2 separate regions of the Homo sapiens genome follow, and region 1 is linked to region 2. The links are contacts of gene promoters, found by promoter capture Hi-C in human tissues and cell types (Jung and others, 2019). All regions are on one chromosome and are shown on one strand. The core of a region is centred on a gene start or on the middle of the fragment in contact, and the rest is flanking DNA. Distances in the headings are between cores, read along the strand shown.

What was found. The method cuts DNA at HindIII sites, captures the fragments that hold promoters and counts their contacts. A contact is called where the count stands out against the background at its distance.
Region 1: a contact is called between a fragment that was not itself captured here and the fragment with the promoter of CCDC14 in region 2, in 2 of the 25 tissues and cell types used here (IMR-90 fibroblasts and pancreas).

The regions. Positions count from the first base shown.
Region 1 is chr3:123,808,760-123,815,032 of GRCh38, reverse strand. All of the region lies in intron 3 of MYLK (myosin light chain kinase), which reads left to right. It overlaps LOC124906346 (small nucleolar RNA SNORA5), which reads right to left and starts at 956; the gene lies at 826-956. The HindIII fragment of the contact is 3,385 bases long and covers 766-4,150 here.
Region 2 is chr3:123,959,050-123,965,492 of GRCh38, reverse strand. It overlaps CCDC14 (coiled-coil domain containing 14), which reads left to right and starts at 4,264. Exons shown (of 13, transcript NM_001366335.1): 1 at 4,264-4,349. The coding sequence starts at 4,320. RefSeq lists a silencer at 3,946-4,256. The HindIII fragment of the contact is 4,558 bases long and covers 429-4,986 here.

The DNA of each region.
Region 1 (6,273 bases), core at 1,209-3,708, 150 kb after region 2:
TCACCTGAGGTCAGGAGTTCAAGACCAGCCTGACCAACAAGGTGAAACCCTGTCTCTACTAAAAATACAAAAATTAGCCAGGCATGGTGTCAGGTGCCTGTAGTCCTAGCTACTCGGGAGGCTGAGACAGGAGACTTGCTTGAACCTGGGAGGTGGAGGTTGCAGTGAGCCGAGATCATGCCGCTGTACTCCAGCCTGGGTAACAGAATGAGACTCCATCTAAAAAAAGAAAGAAAGAAAGAAAGAAAGGATCAGTTTATGTCCATGAAACTGTTTGTTTTAATGAAATTGGAAGCAACCTAAATAGTAAATAACAGGGGCATCATTAAGTTTTGGCTTGTCTACTTGCTAGAATATGATACAGTCACTGAAAATAAGATTTATGAAGAGTGTTCCATATCTGAGGAAAAGCATGAAAAATGAAGGCAATGATAATTTGTATATATAATTTTATTTTTAAAAGTACATACATAGAAACAGATTGGAAAAATATTACAGAAAATTATAGTATTTATATTGGGGGAAAAGTCATTTGTAATCGTACTCACGACCAAACTTTTAGCCAATATTGTTTATTTGTTTATGAATGACAAAAGATGATGAGACAAGGGAACTCGGGTGAGTTCAACATTCCTGTAAAGAGTCAGAAACCAAGACACTGTCTGTCTAGCAAAGGAGTAAGGACAGCTATGAGAACATGTCCAAAATAACCCGGAGTGTGAAATAACAGGTTCCTGGACAGAGGGGACATGAAGCCTGAGCTTGGCCGGAATAGGGTGAATGTGGCCGGGGAAGATACCTTTGTCTTTTGTTTTTCTAGAGGCTTGGTATCTGTAACCAAATTTATCCCTGAGCCCGAGACACAGGAACAGGGCCCATGAGTCAGTGTTTCTGTGGCAGCCTTCTGGGTCAGTGCCTACACAGGCAGGGCAGGCACCAAATTTGACACAGCTGCATGGGGAAGATATCTTTGAAGTCATGTCTTGTGTCTAGACTTAGGGAGACATGGGAGTGATTAGGGTAGAGGTGGCCTTATGTATAGCCCGGCTCCCCTGAATAGTCCCAGCATGAGTATTCAAAGAGCCCTTTCCATTCTCAAGAGCTCTCATTTGGATAATATGTTATGTGGTCACCCTAATTATTGAAAAGGAGGTTGGAGGACATTCTGGGTTGATGACAGTTGCTCTGCTGGTTGCCTCTAGTGCTTAAGAGGCCGTGAATTGTCCGGGCATGGTGGCTCATGCCTGTAATCCCAGCACTTTGGGAGGCTAAGGCAGGCAGATTGCTTGAGGTTGGGAGTTCGAGCCCAGCCTGGCCAACATGGTGAAACCCCGTCTCTACTAAAAATACAAAAATTAGTCAGGCGTGGTCGCACATGTCTGTAATCCCAGCAACTCGGGAGGCTGAGGCAGGAGAATCGCTTGAACCCGGGAGGCAGAGGTTGCAGTGAGCTGAGATCACGTCACTGCATTCCAGCCTGGGCAACAGAGCGAGACTCCATCTCAAAAAAAAAAAAGAGAGAGAGAGACAGTGAATTAAGATTCCCTGACGCAGAGGTGGGCCCAGCCTGATGGAGAAGTGGCCCAGGTGTTGTAGATGAATACAGTTCTGCTGTCTATCCTGATTAAGATAACCAAGGTAATTATTCCCAAGCTGCCCCAGCATGTGGCTAGAATTCATATTTAACTTTGACCCAAGAGCTCCTTTTCCCCTTGCAGTCTTCCTCCCCCATCCCACAAACCTGGTACATGACCATTAAAATCTCAATAAGCAGAAGCTTAAGTAAGGGTAAATAATTTGCCAGCTGAACCTTCCCCTATTTGCAACCTTTTAGCATTAGCAAGTTCTTGACTTTTCATGAAAAAGCCCTGGTATGGCTAGTGCAAAAATCAGTTCAAATGGTAGAGGATGATAACTTTAAGCAGATAGGGACTTGGCCTGAGTGGGCTCTGTTTACTTCCTGCTGTCTGCCCTTTCTTCTATCGGCTCTGTCAAGGCACGTTTTTTGGGAACCCCATTACTGAGCAGACTGCCAAGTTGACCATCAGTGATCTAGCCTGGGAGCCAAGCCTAGGTTCATCTTGCAAGAAAAGTGGGGTGGGATTGTGGAGAAGGCCCCCTTCCCTGTGCCCACAGGAGAATTGGTGTGACCCTGAGTGCCCCAATATGCCTGGCTGGACATCTTGGGAGCACTGCGAAACAGGAGGTAAAGACCTTCACAAAGTATCTCCTCACAGACAGCCTCAGCTCAGTGGGGCCCCCAGTCAACGGAGAAGCCGTGACAGGCACAGCTGACTGGATGTGTGAACAAACAGATTAACAGTTGGCCCTGCATCAGGGATTTCCAAAGTAAAGAGACATCTAGGTCTTTCATAGATGTTTTGTTCAGTTGGTTGGTTGAGGGACACAGGTGACAAGTGTTGGGGCAAACTCTGGCTTTTCCTGGACTTAAGCAAGAAATTACCTTTTGGCACCTGGACACTGTTTTAAGTCTCTAGTTAAGAGATAAGGGGAAACCACTGTCTCACTCAAGAGAGAACGCTCTGCTTTAGAGGCCAGGCTAGATATGGAATTGGCCGGGATCTGTGGAGAGGACACCTGAGCAAGCATGGGCTAATGTCAAACCATAGCTTCCTAGAGAGGTTGGGTGGGGAAACCTGACTTTCAGTGGGGGAGAAAGTACCACTGCAAAGTCTTAAACTGAAACAGGTGTAAGCAAGTTGGTTCTGACCGCCCCTCATTTGGTTTAAGCTTACATCACAAGGAACAGGTGCTGTCAATAATGAATTCAGTTTTTCTCTTGAGCCCAGAAGCAGAGCGGGATGAAGCCATTAAGGTGATAGAACCCAGCCCTGACTAATAGGTATGAGGGGGAACAGAACTGGGGGGCAAGAGTTCTTCAGTGTAGGCGTCCTGAATCTCTATCGCTGACTCTGAGAAGTCCCAGGGGTCTGCTTTCTCTAAGAACAGTTCCATATTGGGTAATGACAAAAAACCAGAGTGAGATTAAAAATGGATTCTTTATATTGAGCGTTAATGATAAAAGCTCCAGGTGATAGCATTCTGTTCAATGTTATATAACTGTTAGAAATGGGGGTTAGTAGTTAGAAGTGAATTGTTAATTTAATAGATATGTTTTTATAGAAAAATGATACAAATAAGTATGTGAAGTACTGCTTTCTGGCCTAATCAATCACACCTGGAGGGGCCTAGCTGGCTGGCTGCTGTGTCCACCAGGTAGAAGCTTACCTAAATTGCTTGAAAGAAAATGTTCTGGCACTAGAATTGCCGTTTCAAAGCTTTACAGGGATGATAAACAACATACTGCTCTTCAGAGCACTATACCAATCTTGTTACTGTTGGCGAGAGAGAGCATCTAACACTCAATAAATGCTAGGCACTCCAGGCTGAATGCTAAAAAAAATGAACTGCTGCCTTTGTTTAGCACAGTGTCCCCGGTAGGGTGTGGAATTTCAAGTTCAGGAGTAGACAAGCATGAAGGGTTTTAGGGCCTTTGAACAGGTCAATGCCCCATTAGCTTTTTAATTTTCCATCCCACTTTCCTGGCTCCTGGGGCTCTATTTTTCTCTTTGATAATCTGTTTTCTCCAATAGGATTCCAAATTCCCTATTGGAAGTTGAGCCTCATATCCTCAAGGCCCATGATCCCTGAGCCAGGTATGAGTGCAGCTAATAGCTGATGGTGGTCCATTGATCTCCCTGTTGGCCCTGCATTTGCCTGTACTTCCCCCTTGCAGCTGATGGAGGATCCTGTGTGGAAGGGCTCCCTCACCCCGAGTGCAAATGGCTCCCTGTTTCAGAAAGGGTTGAGAGGGGACACGCACTTTCTCCTCTCCACTGGAAACCAGCTGAGCTGACACCTCCGAGCAGAAGTTCCTCTTTGTGTTCCTGCTGATGGGCTGTGCTCTCAGTTGATCATTGGTTTTTTCCATACCTTCTCCAGGTTCTCAGAGGTCACCATTTCTTTCCAGTTAGCCCCATTCTAGAAGAGATTTAGGGCTGGGAGAAAAGGAGAAACATGTGTTAGCCTCATTAGTATCTTTGGTGAAGTGTGAGGAGAAAAAGGTAGCCATGATTGCTAGAAAAATGAGACTGTTAAGGGAGAAAAGTGTGTCGATCTCTGTTATCACCCATCATTGCAGATGGCAAAAATCAGTTGTTCTCAGCAACATCACTGACTGCCCTGCAGACAACCTGGAACTGGAGGGTGTCCTTTGGGAGACAGGCAGGGCATGGTGTGGAAGGGCCTGTGTGAGTCACATGAGGACAGCCAAGGGTCTGACTGGACTCCCGGCCAGTCCTGCCACAGGCATTGCATGCAGCTGGTGCTTGAGTGGGTTCACCTGCCTACCTGAGGAGCACGACAGGGAAGGTGAGAACTGTCCTGAGCCTGTTGGGGGGATTGTTCATCTAGAAGAGACATGACTGGCATCCCCATTGGCAGAGCCAGGGCCAGGCTTAGAGCTGGCTTACATTTCCTCATTTTGTATTCTATTGAGCGCCAGAAATGAAGCAGAGAGGGCTGAACCCTGACACAGTGGGCCGGCCCAAGCCTGAGATTGAGGCCCAGAAAGGCCTAGGCTCAACAGACGCCAGCTCCAGACCCAGGGCCACCCTGCTCACCCATGGCTCACAGGGAGATGCAGATTGAACTCTTCGTTCCAGAGAGTGGCCACCTTGATTGGGAAGGGAAGCAGGGGCAGGGGAGGAGAGGGAAGTCACAGGGAGACTATGGGAACCACGGGAAACACGGCCATTCTGTCCTGAGGTCTGGGGGAGGGGCCTATGTCCGCGTTTCACCTACAGCACTTATGTCATTGTATTGGGAGGAGGTAGTTGAACCTCTCACCTTATTTATAGTCCTAGCGGGTATTGTGGGCACTCAGTAAATACACAGTGATGGGTGTGCGGACAGGTAATGAGTTCTGAGCCTTAGGCCCTAGTTCTTCCTGCTCTGCTGAGAGCACAAACCTGATAAAGCTTGAGAACCATGATCAGGTAAACTGTTCGAAATAGTCAGGAGAGTCCCATCTTCTCAATCCTTTTGTCCAGCTGTGGAGTAGGCCTTTTAGACAAACAACAGTGGCCTAAGAAGTTGGAATATAGAAGAGGATTCCTATGTATAAGAACCGCAGGAAATTATGAACTTCTGGAATTTCCTTGCTGAGAGGGCTGTGTGTTGTGGCTGTGGCATTTGGCTACTGCGTGTACGTCCTATTTCCTGTAATACAAGGCTTAGCTCATCACTAGCAGACTGACAAGCTAGTCTCAGAAGCAGGGCAACTGGGATTGTCAAATAGGTTTCCTTAGTATGCTCCATCCTGCTTACTGGTGAGAGGTTTAGGATAGTGTGTCTGAGCTGCTGTCTGCAGAGCAGAGTGTGCGAGTGGCTCTGCAGGTGCTGGAGCTCACAGAGAGACTGCCAGGATGTGCACCTAAGATTATATGTTTAGAGGTCTTCTTTTTGTTTGTTTGTTTTTGTTTTTTAGACGAAGTTTCACTCTTGTTGCCCAGGCTGGAGTGCAGTGGTGCAATCTTGGCTCACCACAACTTCCGCCTCCTGGGTTCAAGCGATTCTCCTGCCTCAGCCTCCCAAGTAGCTGGGATTACAGGTGCCTGCCACCACACCTGGCTACCTTTTTGTATTTTTAGTAGAGATGCTGTTTCACCATGTTGGCCAGGCTTGTCTCGAACTCCTGACCTCAAGTGATCTGCCCACCTTGGCCTCCCAAAGTGCTGGGATTACAGGCGTGAGCCACCACGCCTGGCCTGCTTAGAGGTCTTCTAACCCCAGAGAGGTCAGGACACTCCCTCAGGGCCTCACTGTTAGCAGACCCTGTCCCTGAAATGTTGTGGCCTTAAGTCAGTTTCTTCTCTGTAGGCCTTGGTTTTCTTATCTATAGACTGAGAAGGTGAGCCAGGGGCTCTCTGAGTTCTGTGATTATGTGCAATCTAGCAGCAGAGCCAGGACAGGACACCAGGACCTTTGAACTCCAGTCCACTCCCAGCTCTTCCGTGTGGCATCTCTAACAATGTGACCTTGTCACCAAGGGTCTGAAGCCTGGAATCAGAGACCTCAGTTCAAATCCAGTTGATAATAAGTAGCCGTTACTTATTAGCTTTGAGAACTTTGGCTACTATTACTCAACTTCTGAGTGCTTCCTTTATCTTTAAAATGAAAGTAATACAGTATGTATCTTATAGAATTACTTTGAAAATTACAGTAAACTTATATAAAGCCCTCAGTACAGTA
Region 2 (6,443 bases), core at 3,015-5,514:
CCTTGGAGAGGCTCCTGAGTGCCTCTGATAACATTATATATGTAATCATGTCTCCAAAATGTGCTCATTAGCATTTTTCTGAAGAAAAAATTATAAGGCTTTGAGCAATTTCTCAAAGTTGTATATTATCTCAAAAGGCCAAGAACCTTTGGGTTCAAAATAGCCCCAGAGAGCACTAAATGGCTTGAGGAAAGACAACAGCACAGTCTCTCAGATCTTTCCAAGCAGAACTGAGCTCACGCTCCCAACATGTGACTTCTTATCCACAGCCTCTTACTTTTTGAATCTTAGATCCTGGCCATAAATCTGTGTTTTTAGTTTAGATCTTCATATACTTTCAACTTTGGTCATTTCCTATAAACTGGAACATGGTCAAACCTGAACAGAGACTTTCACACTTCAGAGGTGAGCCAATTGGCAAAGTCATTGGTCCAATGTGCTGAATTATGAAAGACTGGATAGACAAGCAGAGTTGTGTATCCATGATACTAGAGGCACTAAACCTCCGGACCAAGCTCAAAGGGCTAGTCCTGGACAATCCTGAGCCTTGGACATTCAAGTAGCTGTCAGCCCCAGTGCACCAAAGCAGTCCAAACAATGGCTGATTCATTGGTTTATTCAACAAATAATTAAGAAATTCCTACAAGTGCAAGGGATTGTGCTAGGCACTGGGGATACTGCTTTGAACAAGGTGAGGTCCCTGCTTTCATAGAGATTAAATTCTACTTAGGAAGACAGATATTACATAACTAAACACAAGTTTATAATTGTGAGAAACGATGCTACTACATAGTAGCATGAGGCACACAGTTAGTTTGCAGGGGCAGGATAGAGAGGCTTTCTTGAGGAAGTAATTTGAGAACAAGTTCGGAAGCCACAGGCAACTCGGAAAGGTGTATCTGCAGCCCACAGGTCTTTGCCACGCTCCAGACTCAACTATCCAGTAGCTAACTTGACATCTTTTCTTGGATGACTCCAAAGTACTCCCTAATTTAATAAATCCAAAAATGACTTTCCTGGTTTGCATTTTTTTCATAATAAAATGTTGGAGAGAAATGAATTCACAAGCTTCCTTCCTAAATGTGGATCTCTCCCACCACCTGCCAAGATACAAAACCCAGAAACCAGGGTCAACAAATACCTTCCCCTTGCCTGACTTTCCAACTCTTATCACCAAGTGCTCTCCATTTTACCTCCTATGCATCTCTCAAATATGTCCTCTTCACCTTCCCTCACCACCACCTCCCTTAGGTCCCCTCATCCCCTCCCAGCTACCAACATATTTCATCTGGACTTCCTATCAGTCTGGTCCTCACAGGGAACAGAAGACAATCTAGATTTTTGAGGACAATTAAAAGGTTTACGGCCGGGCGCGGTGGCTCACACCTGTAATCCCAGCACTTTGGGAGGCTGAGGCGGGCGGATCACGAGGTCAGGAGATGGAGACCATCTTGGCTAACATGGTGAAACCCCGCCTCTATTAAAAATACAAAAAATTAGCCGGGCGTGGTGGCAGGCGCCTGTAGTCCCAGCTACTCGGGAGGCTGAGGCAGGAGAATGGCGTGAACCCAGGAGGCGGAGCTTGCAGTGAGCCTACACAGCACCACTGCAGTCCGGCCTGGGCGAAAGAGCGAGACTCTGTCTCAAAAAACAAAACAAAACAAACAGAAAAAGGTTTACATAATGGACAAGGAAAACAACAAGGGAGTTGAGGCACCCAGGGACTAGCAAACCATTATCACCCCTAAGACTGAAAAGACAAAGGGAAGGACATGTTTTATTAGAGTGTGAGAGGACTGGAGCTCCAGGGGCTCCCCTGATGATGCAGAGGGCCAGTGCATCAGCCAAACGGTGCTGAGAGAGCAGGAATATCCCATTCTCTCCCTCTTCTATTGACTAAACAGAACCTGAAGCTGGAGGGCATGTCTGACTGATGTCAGTCCAAGGGGAGGACAGAGAATGGATGCAGGAGGAGAGAACTTGCTCACACCCATACTTGCCTTTCCCCCAAGCACCCTCTATGCTAGTGATCAGCAAACTTCTTCTGTAAAGGCCCAGATAGTAAATATCTTAGGCTTGGCCGGCTAGACGGTCTCTATCACAAATACTCAACTTTGGCAGTTGTAGCACAGATAATGTGTAAACACATTAGCGTGACTGTGTTCCAATAAAACTTTGTAACACTGAGATGATTTTCAGGTAACTTTTCACATCACACAATATAATTCTTTTGACTTAAAAAAAACTACCTGAAAATGTAAAAACTGTTCTCAGGCTACATCCAAGAATGGCAGACTGAATTTTGCCAGGGACTGTAGATTTCAGATTCCTGCTCTACACTACAGCCATTGATCTTTGTAAAACCCCAGTCAGTTCACTGTGTCCCCTGCTTGAACTTTTATGTATTCCCAATGGCCTTAGGATAATAAGCCAAATCATGTAGTCTATGAGGACTGCATAGTCTGGCCCTACATATATTTCCATCCCCACTGTCTATACTTCAGCAGCAAGGAACTCTCTGGGTTTCTCTTTCTCAACATCATGCTGTCTCCACATCTTTAGAATACTCTGCTCTCCACTCTCTATCTAGTTCATTTGCAGATCTCAGCTCACTGCAACATTATTTATAATAGCAAACAACAAAATGAAACGGGGTGGGGGCATAACATTCCCAACACTAGGGAAGTGAATCATGGAACACCAGGCAGCCATTTTATAATTGTAGACTAATGAGAAACAATGTTGATTAGATATTAAGAGAAAACACGCATGTTACAGTAATACCTATTATTTCATATTGTCGTAATACATTTATACATATATATGTAGGTGGAAAAAATCTTGAAGGGAATGCACCAAGCTGTTCAAAGTGATAACTCATGGGTAATGGGGTTATGGGTGGTCTTTTCCTTTTTGCTTATCTATATTTTCTAAAATAAACATGTATTAAGAAAAATCAATATGAATTCAAAAAATATCAACTTAACTAAAAAAAACCCCTTAATTTCAGGTGAATATGTCAGCAAGTTATGAAGTTATGTGAGGGCTGGGGAAGGAAAGGAGAGGTTTTCACAGTTTGATCTAATTCAAAACTAAATCTGTGAAATACTCATTTCCTAAAATCACTCAGGATAAGTGTGTGATATTTTGGTGGACATATTTTAGTTCCTGGGCTTTGACATTAATTGTAACAGACTTTTAAAGCGTAGCTCTTTTCTCCATTAAAAAGAAATGAGGCCGGGCATGGTGGCTCACCACTGTAATTCCAGCACTTTGGAGGCCAAGGCGGGCGGATCACCTGAGGTCAGGAGTGTGAGACCAGCCTGGCCAACAGGGTGAAACCCTGTCTCTACTAAAAATACAAAAATTAGCCGCGTGTGGTGGCACGCACCTGTAATCCCAGCTCTTCAGGAGGCTGAGGCAGGAGAATCGCTGGAACCCAGGAGGCAGAGGTTGCAGTGAGCTGAGATTGCGCCACTGCACTCCTGCCTGGGTGACAGTTGAAATGGAATAAACTGAGTTATCTCTCTTCAACTTGATTTAAATCATTAACCCAAAACTCAATGCCTTAAAAACCAATGACTAAAATCCTCATTAAAATGAGTGCACATGCCAATACTAAGAATGTTGTGTCATTTTTCATCAAAAGTAATTACCTCAACATAAGAGGAGACAAGTACGCATGGAAGTAAACCCAAAATCCCAACTAATGAACACCGTTCTGAGATCAGTGGCCACAGGGAATAATTCTGCAATTTCCATCACACGCAAAGGTAACAACCCCGAGGTCTTATTTTTATAGAATATCAAGAACAAAATCTTCCAAAAGGCACACGATGCCAAACTAAAAATAAAGAGCGAAAACCCAAAAAGTCGCGCTCAATTCCTTCTGAAACCTATTCGCCTCCTACCCCTGTCCCATCCTCTGGCGCTGGCGGGTCCTCGTCCCCGTTTTCCCCACCGCAAGTCCTGGAACCTCCGCTTAACTCTTTTCTCGGCGGCTCCGCCCCGGCCCCGCCCCAGCCATGCCTTGGCCCCGCCCCGTTCGCCGTTTATTGGCTTCTCCCAACCCCTGCCGGTGGGTGACAAGCCGGGAAGCTTGGAGGGGTCTATTGCGTACGCCCAAGGCGCTGGGCCTGGAGCAGGAGAAAGGGAGTGGAGGCGCGTCGGAGACTATGAAGCGCGGCATTCGGCGGGATCCTTTCCGGAAGCGGAAGCTCGGCGGGCGGGCCAAGAAGGTCCGGGAGCCCACGGCGGTTAATTCTTTTTACCGTGAGGCTTCACTTCCCTCGGTCTGGGCTTCTCTGAGGCGGCGAGAGATGGTCAGGTCTGGAGCTCGACCGGGCCAGGTGAGGGCTGAGGACCTGAGGAGTCCGCTGTGGGGATGGAGAGGGACAGGGGGGTTTTCGGGCCAGGAACTTGTAAAACTCTGCTCGAAAAAAGACAAAGACAATGCGGCGACATTAAAGTGCTGGGACAGAGGTGCAGGGAACACCTAATCTTCCCGTCGTAACACGGCCGCTCGGTCTCTAGATGTTTCTGTTTAAATCGTCGTAGCCCTAGTCTAGAGCGCCGGCTTTGGGGTCAGGCCCGGGTTCGAGTCCCAGCCTTCGCCGCTGCGTCGAGTGACTTAACCTCTCCTAGCTTCAGTCACCTGCAGATTGAGAGTCTACTACTTTTTACTGCTCAGAACTTCCTATTCCTTAGCTGCAAAATAGGCAGAAATAAGCATAAAATCCTGTCTCAAAGAATTGAGAAGGTTAAATAAGAGAACCCGGTAAAAACATCGATCACACAGTTGTTGTAGACATACAACAAAATTTAGTTCCCTTTAAAACACGTAGTTTGCCACCATCTTAATGATAACAGCAGCCAACATTTAGATAGGACTTATGTGGCAGATGCTACTGTAAGTGCTTTTATGTATTACATAGAATAACTCATTTAATAGTCACGATATCCTTATGAGGTAAGTACTATTATCCCTATTTTATATATGAGGAAATCGAGGGCTGGAGGATTCAAATAACTTGGCAGTTACACAGCTGTGGAAACAAGATTCAGACTCACAAAACTGATGCCAGAGTCCATTCTTCTTTTAAACATTTTACCTAGTAGATGTATGACTTTGAACAAACCACTTTTCTGAAATTTAGGTTCCCACCTCACAAATAATAACTCACAGGGTATGGATTAAGTGAAAATGAAAGACCTTAGCACACTGTAAGTCATTCTACAAAGGCAGTATTATCTTGTACTTGTTGGTAGGAGATATGACTACTAAGAAATGCTTATATGATTCTCAAATAGCAAAATTAAAAGTTTAATGATAATAACCTCGTAGAAGTAAGTGTAAAATAAAGCAAACTGATTCTCCTGTATTGTGATTAGGACACTCCTTTTGGAGAGCAGCTTTGCAGTTTGTATCAAGGGTTATTAAATTGCTAATAACCTTTCACCAAATAATTTTCTTTTTAATCCTAAATATAAAAAGGCTGTTTTCAGTAGATAGAAAGGCTTATTCCAGGTTTGTTTTTTTAATTGTGAAAAATATGAAGCAAACCAAGACCATTATTATATTACTTCCACTGAAGGAAATATTATACAACCATTAAAAATTTATGAATATGAAAAAGATTTAAAAGTAGAAAACACAGGATTTAAAATTGCAAATATCTAGGTATTATGACTAAGTAAAAAATGCATATGAAAAAAGATTGGAGGCCCCAATAGCAAAGAACACATCTAGTACCTAGATCTTGGTTTCCACGTACCACTGTCCACTAAGGAGTCATGGCTTCTTGGAGAAATGACCAACTCCAGGGCTGAGCAGGGGTAATATAAGAAGAGCATGGACACATCAAACTAAAAAGCTTCTGCACAGCACAGGAAATGATTAATGGAGTGAAAAGGCAATCTACAGAATGGGAGAAAATATTTCCAAGCCATGTATCTGATAAATAATATCCAAAATACATATAAGGAATTTCTATAACTCAAAAGCAGAACAACACATAACCTGGTTAAAAAACGAAAAAAGGATTTGAATAGACATTTCTCCAAAGAAAATGTACAGATGGCCAGCAGGTATATGAAAAGATGCTCAACATCACTAATCCAGGAAATGCAAATTAAAACCACAATGAGCTATCACCTAACCCCTGTTAGGATGACATTAAAAAAATGAAAACAAGTGTTGGCAAGGATGTGGAAGAATTGGAACCCTTGTACACTGTCAGTGGGAATGTAAAATGGTATAGCTGCTATGGAAAACAATATGGAGATTCCTCACCAAATTAAATATAGAACTATATCACCCAGCAATTCTACTTCTGGGAATTTATCCAAAAGAATTGAAATCAGGATATAGAAGAGATATTTGCACTCTTGTGTTCATTGCAGCACTATTCACAATAGCCAAATGTGGGAACAACCCAAATTCT